Regions from separate parts of the Homo sapiens genome. Here all the other regions are linked to region 3. Evidence: promoter capture Hi-C in human tissues and cell types (Jung and others, 2019). All regions are on one chromosome and are shown on one strand. The core of a region is centred on a gene start or on the middle of the fragment in contact, and the rest is flanking DNA. Distances in the headings are between cores, read along the strand shown.

Region 1 (3,223 bases), core at 25-2,524, 340 kb after region 3:
AAACTGCCTCCTTTCTGGAGCTGCTCAGAGTCACCTCATTGATGTGCACAACCTCATCCCCAGCCTGCAGTTTGGAGCTCAGGGTGTCTGCTTTGCCCCCTTCTTCGACCTGCTTGGAGGGAGAGATGCGACAGCCACGAGTGAGCTTTCCCCTGGCCTGGGGTCTGTCCGGCTATCCCGAGCCCAGCTTAGACTCCTGCAGAGCCCAACGGACCAGCTAGGGCCACACCCCAGCGCTTGCAGCCAGAGGGAAAACTGTGAGAGCGCAGGGACTGGCTCTGGGTGTCCACACCCTCAAGAACCAGCACCCTGCCTGCCCAGGGAGGGCGCCCTTAAACATCAGCTGAATGAACGACAGAACTCAGTTTCCATCCAAAGGCCATTATCCCACGGTGCTCAGGACATCTCCCCAGCCCTTGCTTTACATCTTCAAAAAGTCCACTCAGGGCAACTGTTTTATCCCTTTAGAAGAGCAGTCCCCAAACTTTTTGGCACCAGGGACCAGTTTTGTGGAAGACAATTTTTCCACGGATGGGGTGTGGGCGGATGGTTTTGGCGTGGTTCAAGTGCGTTGCATTTATTGTGCACTTTATTATTTTTTCATTATAACATATAATGAAATAATTATACAACTCAGCATAACATAGAATCAGCGGAGCCCTGAGCTTGTTTCCCGCAACTAGATGGTCCCACTGGGGGCGATGAGAGATAGTGACAGATCTTCAGGCATTAGATTCTCATAAGGAGTGTGCTACCTAGATCCCTCGCATGTGTAGTTCACAATAGGGTTCGGGCTCCTGTGAGAATCTAATGCTGCCACTGATCTTACAGGAGGCAGAGCTCGGGTGGTTATGTGAGCAATGGGGAGCAGCTGTAAATACAAATGAAGCTTCACTTACTCATCCACTCCTACTGTGCGGCCTGGTTGCTAACAGACCACTGTAATGGTCCGTGGCCTGGGGGTTGGGGACGGGTTACATTAGAAGTTGAGTTCCTCTGGCCGGGTACGGTGGCTCATGCCTGTAATCCCAGCACTTTGGGAAGCTAAGGCTGGCAGATCACAGGGTCAGAAGATCGAGACCATCCTGGCTAACACGGTGAAACCCCATCTCTACTAAAAATACAAAAAAATTAGCCAGGCATGGTGGCAGGCACCTGTAGTCCCAGCTACTCAGGAGGCTGAGGCAGGAAAATGGCATGAACCCAAGAGCCGACGCTTGCAGTGAGCTGAGATCACGCCACTGCACTCCAGCCTGGGTGACAGAGTGAGACTCCGTCTCAAAAAAAAAAAAAAAAAACACAAACAAAAAACAACAAAAAAAAGTTGTGTTCCTCTTACCTTACTTTTTGTTCTAAAATTATAATTCATTGGATACATAAAGTAGTACATTCAGACAATGGAATATTATTCAGCACTGAAAAGAAATGAGCTATCAAACCATGAAACAACATGAAGGAAACTTAAAATGCATATTTCTAAGTGAAAGAAGCCAGTCTGAAAAGGCTACATACCACACAATTTCAAGTGTATGACATTGTAGGAAAGGCAAAACTAGGGAGGCAGTAAAAAGATCAGCAGTGGCTGAGGTTAAAGGGAAGGGTAGGATGAATATGGTGGCACAGAATATTTTAGGGCAGTGAAACCATTCGATATGATATTGTAGTGGTGGACACATGCCTTGTACATTTGTCAAAACCCATAGAATGTACAGCACCAAGAGTGAACCTACTATAAACTATGGGTGACAGGAGATGTCCATGTAGGTTCATCAGTTGTAATAAATGTATCACTCTGGTGCAGGATTTTGATAGTGGGGGAGGCTATGTGTATGTGTGGGCAGCAGATACATGGGAAATATCTGCACCTTCCATTCGTCTTTTTTTTATGAACCTAATATTGCTCTTAAAAAATAAATACGCTGGCTGGGCACAGTGGCTCACGCCTGTAATCCCAGCACTTTGGGAGGCTGAGGCAGGTGGATTTGGATTGCCTGAGCTCAGGAGTCCAAGACCACCCTGCGCAATGTGGTGAAACCCTGTCTCTACTAAAAATACAAAAATTAGACGGGTGTGGTGGCACACACCTGTAATCCCAGCTAGTTGGGAGGCTGAAGTGGGAGAATCGCTTGAAACCACGAGGTGGGCCTCGTGCGGTGTCTCATGCCTGTAATCCTAGCACTTTGGGAGGCCGGGGTGGGTGGATCACCTGAGGTCAGGAGTTCGAGACCAGCCTGGCCAACATGGTGAAACCCCGTCTCTACTAAAAACACAAAAATTAGCTGAGTGTGGTGGTGCATGCCTGTAATCCCAGCTACTCGGGAAGCTGAGGCAGGGAAATCATTTGAACCTGGGAGGTGGAGGTTGCAGTGAGCAGAGATCATGCCACTGCACTTCAGCCTGGGTGATAGAGCGAGACCCCGTCTCAAAAAAAATAAATAAATAAAAGAGAAAAGAAAAGAAACCAGGAGGTGGAGGTGCAGTGGGCCGAGATTGCATCACTGCTCTCCACTCCAGTCCAGCCTAGGCGACAGAGCGAGACTCTGTCTCAAAACAAAACAAAACAAAACAAAAATGTCCTGCACTATTATTCAGTCAACAAAGTTATTCAACACCTGCTTTACATCAGAAATTTTTCCAAGTGCTTGGGCTATAAAAGTGGACAAAATAGACAAAAACCTTTTGATCTTCTGATGCTTAAGTTAATGGGCAGAGGAGGGGAAGCAAACAATAAACATAATAAACAAGTAAGTAATGTAGTACGTTAGAAATTAATCATATGCTTTGGAAACAGGAAAATAAGGCTCGATCTGGGTCACATGCCAATGGATACTTATAGACGTCAATAACAATGAAAGGGAAGTAAAGGGGAAAACAAAAACAAAACCTGAGTAAACAAAACCTCACCCATATTTTCTCTTTTTTTAGTAATTACTCTCCAGAATTGCCCACATGTTCAAAAACCTTCAATAGGTCTCAAGATACATAAAATAGACCAAGCAATTATATATATACATATATTACATATACAAATTATATGCAGACATAGCTACATACATATATAGATATCTATATATATGTATATGTATATAGCAAACATAATGAGGAATGTATATGTATATAGATATATGTATATACATATATAATTGCTTGGTATGTCTATATACATATATTATATAATTGATATATCTATATACATATATAGATATTTTGGGAGACAGACTCT
Region 2 (2,795 bases), core at 225-2,724, 300 kb after region 3:
TACTTGTCAGTAGGGTGGTCTCTTTTGCTGAGTCTCTTTAGGAAAGACTTGGCAGATATTACACCCTTTTATCAGAGACAGAGGTTACTGTCTCTCCGTTGCCGTCTATTCTAGGAGAACAGGTCCTGATCAAGCCCCAGTTGAAGGGGTGAGGCTAGACCAGCTCTTCCTCAGCTATAGGCAGAGCTGTTCACATTGCGGCTGGTGCGACCTGGTGCTGGGGCAAGGCTGAGAGTGTCAGGTGATAAGGCTCTAGAGCTGTGGGGCACATGGGGTAGAGCCCAGTGATGGCTCCGGGGTGAGCCAGGGCCACACACTAGTAGATGTAGGGGACAGAATCCCAGAAGCTTAGGAGAATGCTTCTGATGGGATTTTGTTATTGTTGTTGCAAATGACACAGTAACATTGAACCCACAGAGAAAATCAAGCAAAAATGGGAATTTCTTGAGAAGGCCAGGGATGGAGATGGCCTCAGGGACTGGAAATTATTGTCAGGTTCTTCCTTGGGAGAGGCAGCATCTGTTGGAGAGTGTGTGTGTGTGTGTGTGTGTGTGTGTGTGTGTGTGTGTGTGTTTCTCTGTACCTATCTACCTACCTATACATCTAGACACAGTCATGCATTGCTGAATGATGGGGATATGTGACCAGAAATGCCTGATTAGGCAATTTCATCATACAAACATCACAGACAGTATTTACACAAACCCAGATGTTATACACAACATCTTTTGCTTTTCTTTTTAGAGACAGGGTCTTGCTCTGTTGCCCAGGCTGGAGTACGGTGGTGTGATCACAGCTCACTGTAGCCTCTACCTCCCAGGCTCCAGCCATCCTCTTGCCTCTAACTCCCAAGTAGCTGGGATCATAGGCACAAGCCACCACACCTGGCTCTCTATTTTTTCATATGAAAATGTCCCAGCACATTACTGAATATCAAACATTTCCCCTACTTGATCTGCAGGGATAATATCAAGTACTATATATCACTTCTGTGTATGCTCCATTATCAGTTTATGGAACCACTGTCATGCATGGGGTCCATCATTGACCCAAATTATTATGGGGTGCATGACAGTATATAGACAGAGAGAGCAAGGTGAAAAAAAAGACCTCACTTTTATCTTTGCAATAGGATTCAGTGTGTGTGCATGCAGGGGTAAAGTACACAGAAAACAACCATGGAGCAGAGAACTTCAGGTTTACCTTATCCCAGATTAACAACTGCAAGAGTTCTGCCTCCTCTTAGACTCCATGTACAAAAAGATAAAATTACAAAGAAACACTCTGATTTGCCTGGCTTAGAAACTTGCTTATCTAAAACAGGCCCTCATAATTGTTTACTCAATGGTTACTGTCCCCTGTTTTACTCCACAAGTATAATTTTGATTCCATTGCAGGATCAGATAATGATGTGCTCAGAAAGGCAGCTCCTTCATCACCCTAAGGGATTAACCATGCCTGGTCTATACTATTCTTGGTAATCTGACTCCCTGCCAGTTACTAGTGTAGGCAAGGATATAGGACATAAGCCTAACTAATGAGATCTGACTCCTAAAAAAAGAGAGTTTGCAGGAGGATTTTTGAAAAAGTATTTCTCATTCTTGATGAAATACACAAAACTAGAACTCCTTCCCTTGTTTGGACAAGACTCTGTGAGGACGTGATGCCTGGAGCTGCAGCAAACACCTTGCAACCATGAGGAACAAATGTAAGGAAGAAAATCATCATGCTAAGGGTGGCAGAATGAAAACACAGACAAACCTGGAGCTTTGATGACATCACCATGCCATTAAATTAACCCTGGCACCATGTCTGTCAGAAAGCCAGTCTGCAGACAGAGCAATGGAACTGACGTTCAAAGTCAGCTGAAATGAACAACTATGTAATCCAAAAAGAAAGTGAATAGCTGCCTACTTTCTAAATAATAATAAGAGTTAATGGTTACTGAGTTCCTATTACGTGTCAGGCAGTGTTCCAAGTGCTTTATATGTATTATCTCACTGAAACTACACAACAACACAACAAGGTAGAAACTTTGATTATTCCTTCTTTTTAGACAAGTAAATGAGGTTCAGAAATATGAGGTAACTTATCCAAGGTCACAAATTCAGCAATGCCAAGGTTGGAACTCACATGCAGGCCTTCTGACTCTAAGAGCTTTTCACCACTAAGTTAATGTTGAGGTGTTCCTGGCTTCCTATAGTTGGATTTCACAAGCTTCCTTCATATCTTGATATCTTCATCTCTTTTTATTTGAGTTGGTCTTAGTGGGTTTATGTTCAATACACCCAAATGTTCCCTTAGATACTGGCATTGTCAAGATTCAGGCTTCCTTTCTCTACTCCATAACAAATCTGTGAGTCTCAATGTCCATTTGTTAAATGCACCAAATCCAGATTTGCACTGATTTAGTGGAATTCATGGCGTTCCAATGGTTCCCTGTTCCCTCCCCAATTGTCACATAGCAGGTGTTAGTCTGACATCAGGGTCCTTTGGAGCTACACTTCCAATGCAATGTGATTTATTAATTAAACTATGAATGAGTGCCTAACAAGGGATGAAATTGTTGACACTGGTTCAAACACTGTAATTGTCCCATGATGTCCTCACCTCTAATTTTATGTTTTTTAACTTTTCAAAGTTAAAGTTTTTATGTAAGTGACATCCTGCGATTACATACATCTCTGTGACTCTTGAGACTAGGATGGCATTTCTATGGCCTTACTATTGTTTATTCATGTCACACCCTCACTCCCTCACTCAGTCAACAAATATTTGAGTATCTGCATGCACCA
Region 3 (3,108 bases), core at 110-2,609:
AAACATGTCTTTGTCAACAATTGTAGGGCCAACACACATACTTTCAATACTCTTTCTTGGCGAGAAGTATAGGAACTATGAGTAATCAGAAATAGAAGAGCAAAAGGAAAAGTGAAAAGATGAGAAGAGTCCATGAGAAAAGAGAGGCAAATTACAGGGAAGGAGAAAATCGAGGTTTTTGAATGGGAAATACAGTGGACATGAGAGGATCTGAGAAACAGACATATTTCCTGTCAGTAGAGGCCGAAGGTAAACAAGGATGTCGTGTAACAGAAAGAAATGGGAAGGCCAAGTTAAAGAAAAGAATGAGAGAAGGCTTGGAACTAAAACAGGTAAAGAGATAATGACAGTGAAAACTATCTCAGGCATGTCAACAGGACTGATAAGGAACAGTGAGGGACATCCAGGATCTCACATCAAAGACAGAAGGGTCAACATGTGGAGAGAGAAAAAGGAAGAGGGATCCCAGCTGTTAGGGGGAAAAGGTGCTGTTAAAGACAGCTCTAGTCTGCATTTTGAACCTTACATTCTGAAAGGAAGCACTTCACCAAGCCAATACAAAACACTGTACAAATCTCTGCTGTTCACAAATTTTAGAGTAAATAAAAGCAAACTAATGCTACACATCAAATACCTTAACTGGCGAGACATAATTCCTAGTTCATTTTAGCCGCCGGGGGCAAGAAGCTATCAAAGTGATTTTTTTTTTCCAGCACCTTAATGTGAGACAAGTATGAAGGAAAGACAAGTATGAAAGAAAAAGTCCCAAACCAATATTGCCCAGTAGTAATTTTCAGAGTGATTTCTCTTTTCAGTATAGACTTGGATGTATTCGGACCCCTTGGAGGGGGCGCCGGAGAAGCGGCCCAGAAAGTATTTCTATATTAAGAAAAATTTAGTTTGGATGCAAAGTGAGTTTTGCGGACCTCAATACAGCCTCGAGAAATCTGAAGTACTCCTCTACAGCGTTAATAAAGAAAGATAACTCAGATTGCCTGTTAACTTGCAGCTTCTCCTCCTCCCCCATCGGCTTCAGCCTGAACTCATCAAAGCACCGGAGGACAGGAACGGACCTTCTATCGCTTTTGTTTCCTGCGTGGCGGAGACTTAGAGGAACGGCCGGTCGCCTACCTGCCTTCCACTTCCCCGGCCGCAGAGCAGTTCGCTGCCGGCTCGGTTCGCCGCCAACCTCACCTACCGGCTGGCTCTCCGGCCTGACTCTTCTGGGATGGGTGGCAGGGGGTGGGGGAGACCTCAGGGGGCGGAGGGACACGAGGAGGCGGGCCTGACCCTTCCCCCAGAGGCAGGGAGGAGGTGCCGCCAGGGCGCAGGTGAAACCGACTCGGCCCTATCCCGGGAACTTTCGCTGTGAGGACTCGTTGCGAGAGGCTAGAGTCGCGCAGGGGCGGCCTCGGAGCCGCCCTCTCTCACGCAGACTGCCGCGGGGACTCAGCCTTGGGGCCACCCGGAGGGGACCCACGGCCCTCCTGGCGCGCTCACGGGCTGCGGGCAGCGCTGGCCTCCGCGGCTGATGGGGGCGGCTAGTGCCGCCCCGGGCGCAGGTGACACTCGCCCGGCCAGGGTTTCCTCTGGCTGGGGAGAGCCCCGGGAGGGCGAGACTCAGACACCTCTGGGGCGGAGGACAAGGCAGCGATGGCCCGAGAGCTGAGCCAGGAGGCACTACTGGACTTTCTGTGCCAGGCTGGGGGCCGCGTGACCAACGCTGCCTTGCTGAGCCACTTCAAGAGCTTTCTCCGAGACCCCGACGCGTCCCCCAGCCAGCACCAGCACCGCCGCGAGCTCTTCAAGGGCTTCGTCAACTCGGTCGCCGCAGTGCGCCAGGACCCCGACGGCACCAAGTACGTGGTGCTCAAGAGGAGATACAGGGACCTTTTGGGGGAGGAGGGGCTGCAGCGACCCCGCGAGCCGCCCGCGGCCGCCCCCAGTGCAGGGGGAGCTGCGCCCTGCTCCCCGCGAGGCGCGCGCCGGGGGGAGCCGCCCCAGCAGCAGCCCAGGCGGCGGCGGCGCGAGAAGGAGCCGGAGGAGGAGCCAGCAGGTGCAGCAGCCAGAGCCGCCGACGCAGCTTGCAATGGACTCCCGGGCAGCGACTCCCGTAGGGCGCCCGGGAAGGGCGGCGGATCGAAGGGCAGTCCCGGACAGAGGCCGCCGGTGCCCGCAGCTGCAGCGGCAGGGGCCCAGGCGAGAGCGAGCTGCGCGGCGGCGAAGACGCAGGGCCGCTGCTGCTGGGAATGCCTCCAGAACAACCTGGCTGTACTGCCGGGAGAGCTCGGCGCACTCCCGCACTCGGCCACCGCGGAGGAGAAGCCGGCACGGGCTCTGCCTGCCCAGGATGACCGCGGGGCTTCCAGGGAGCGGGAAGAAGGCGCGCTAGCTGAGCCGGCGCCTGTGCCTGCAGTGGCTCACTCGCCTCCCGCCACCGTCGAGGCTGCGACAAGCAGGGCTTCCCCGCCTGCTCTCCTGCCCGGCCCCGCTCCCCGCGGAGACCGGCCGGAGCTGCTGACCCCCAGCTCCCTGCATTATTCGACCCTGCAGCAGCAGCAGCAGCGCACTCGAGAGTGGGTGGCCAGGCACCCGCAGGTGCCCGAGGCCCGTGATCAGGGCCCTATCCGCGCCTGGTCGGTGCTGCCAGACAACTTCCTCCAGCTGCCCTTGGAACCCGGCTCCACGGAGCCTAATTCAGAGCCGCCAGACCCCTGTCTTTCCTCGCACTCTCTCTTTCCTGTTGTTCCGGATGAGTCCTGGGAATCCTGGGCGGGGAACCCTTCATTGACTGTCTTTCGCAGCATTCGTTGTCAGCTGTCCCTCCAAGATCTGGATGACTTTGTGGACCAGGAGAGTGATGGCAGTGAGGAGAGCAGCAGTGGGCCCAAAGACTCCCCGGGGGCTTCTGAAGAGGGGCTGCAGGTTGTCTTGGGAACCCCAGATAGGGGGAAGCTCAGGAATCCAGCTGGGGGCCTTTCTGTATCTCGGAAGGAGGGCAGCCCCAGCCGGAGCCCTCAGGGTCTCAGAAACAGAGGGGATGGTCACATCTCTCAGCAGGTCCCTGCAGGGGCTAATGGCCTTGCAGGCCACCCCCTGAAGCCTTTG

Evidence for each region. The method cuts DNA at HindIII sites, captures the fragments that hold promoters and counts their contacts. A contact is called where the count stands out against the background at its distance.
Region 1: a fragment that was not itself captured here is called in contact with the fragment with the promoter of SOWAHB in region 3 in 1 of the 25 tissues and cell types used here (mesendoderm cells).
Region 2: a fragment that was not itself captured here is called in contact with the fragment with the promoter of SOWAHB in region 3 in 2 of the 25 tissues and cell types used here (H1 embryonic stem cells and stomach).

The regions. Positions count from the first base shown.
Region 1 is chr4:76,552,495-76,555,717 of GRCh38, reverse strand. It overlaps SHROOM3 (shroom family member 3), which reads right to left. Exons shown (of 11, transcript NM_020859.4): 2 at 1-109. Among named protein-coding and RNA genes, the nearest start is that of MIR4450, 19 kb to the left of the region's middle. The HindIII fragment of the contact is 3,492 bases long and covers 1-3,020 here.
Region 2 is chr4:76,594,360-76,597,154 of GRCh38, reverse strand. All of the region lies in intron 2 of SHROOM3 (shroom family member 3), which reads right to left. Among named protein-coding and RNA genes, the nearest start is that of MIR548AH, 20 kb to the right of the region's middle. The HindIII fragment of the contact is 3,809 bases long and covers 1-2,795 here.
Region 3 is chr4:76,896,395-76,899,502 of GRCh38, reverse strand. SOWAHB (sosondowah ankyrin repeat domain family member B) reads left to right here and starts at 1,359. Exons shown (of 1, transcript NM_001029870.3): 1 at 1,359-3,108. The coding sequence starts at 1,654. RefSeq lists silencers at 1,199-1,268, 1,339-1,638, 1,899-2,008. The HindIII fragment of the contact is 8,540 bases long and covers 1-3,108 here.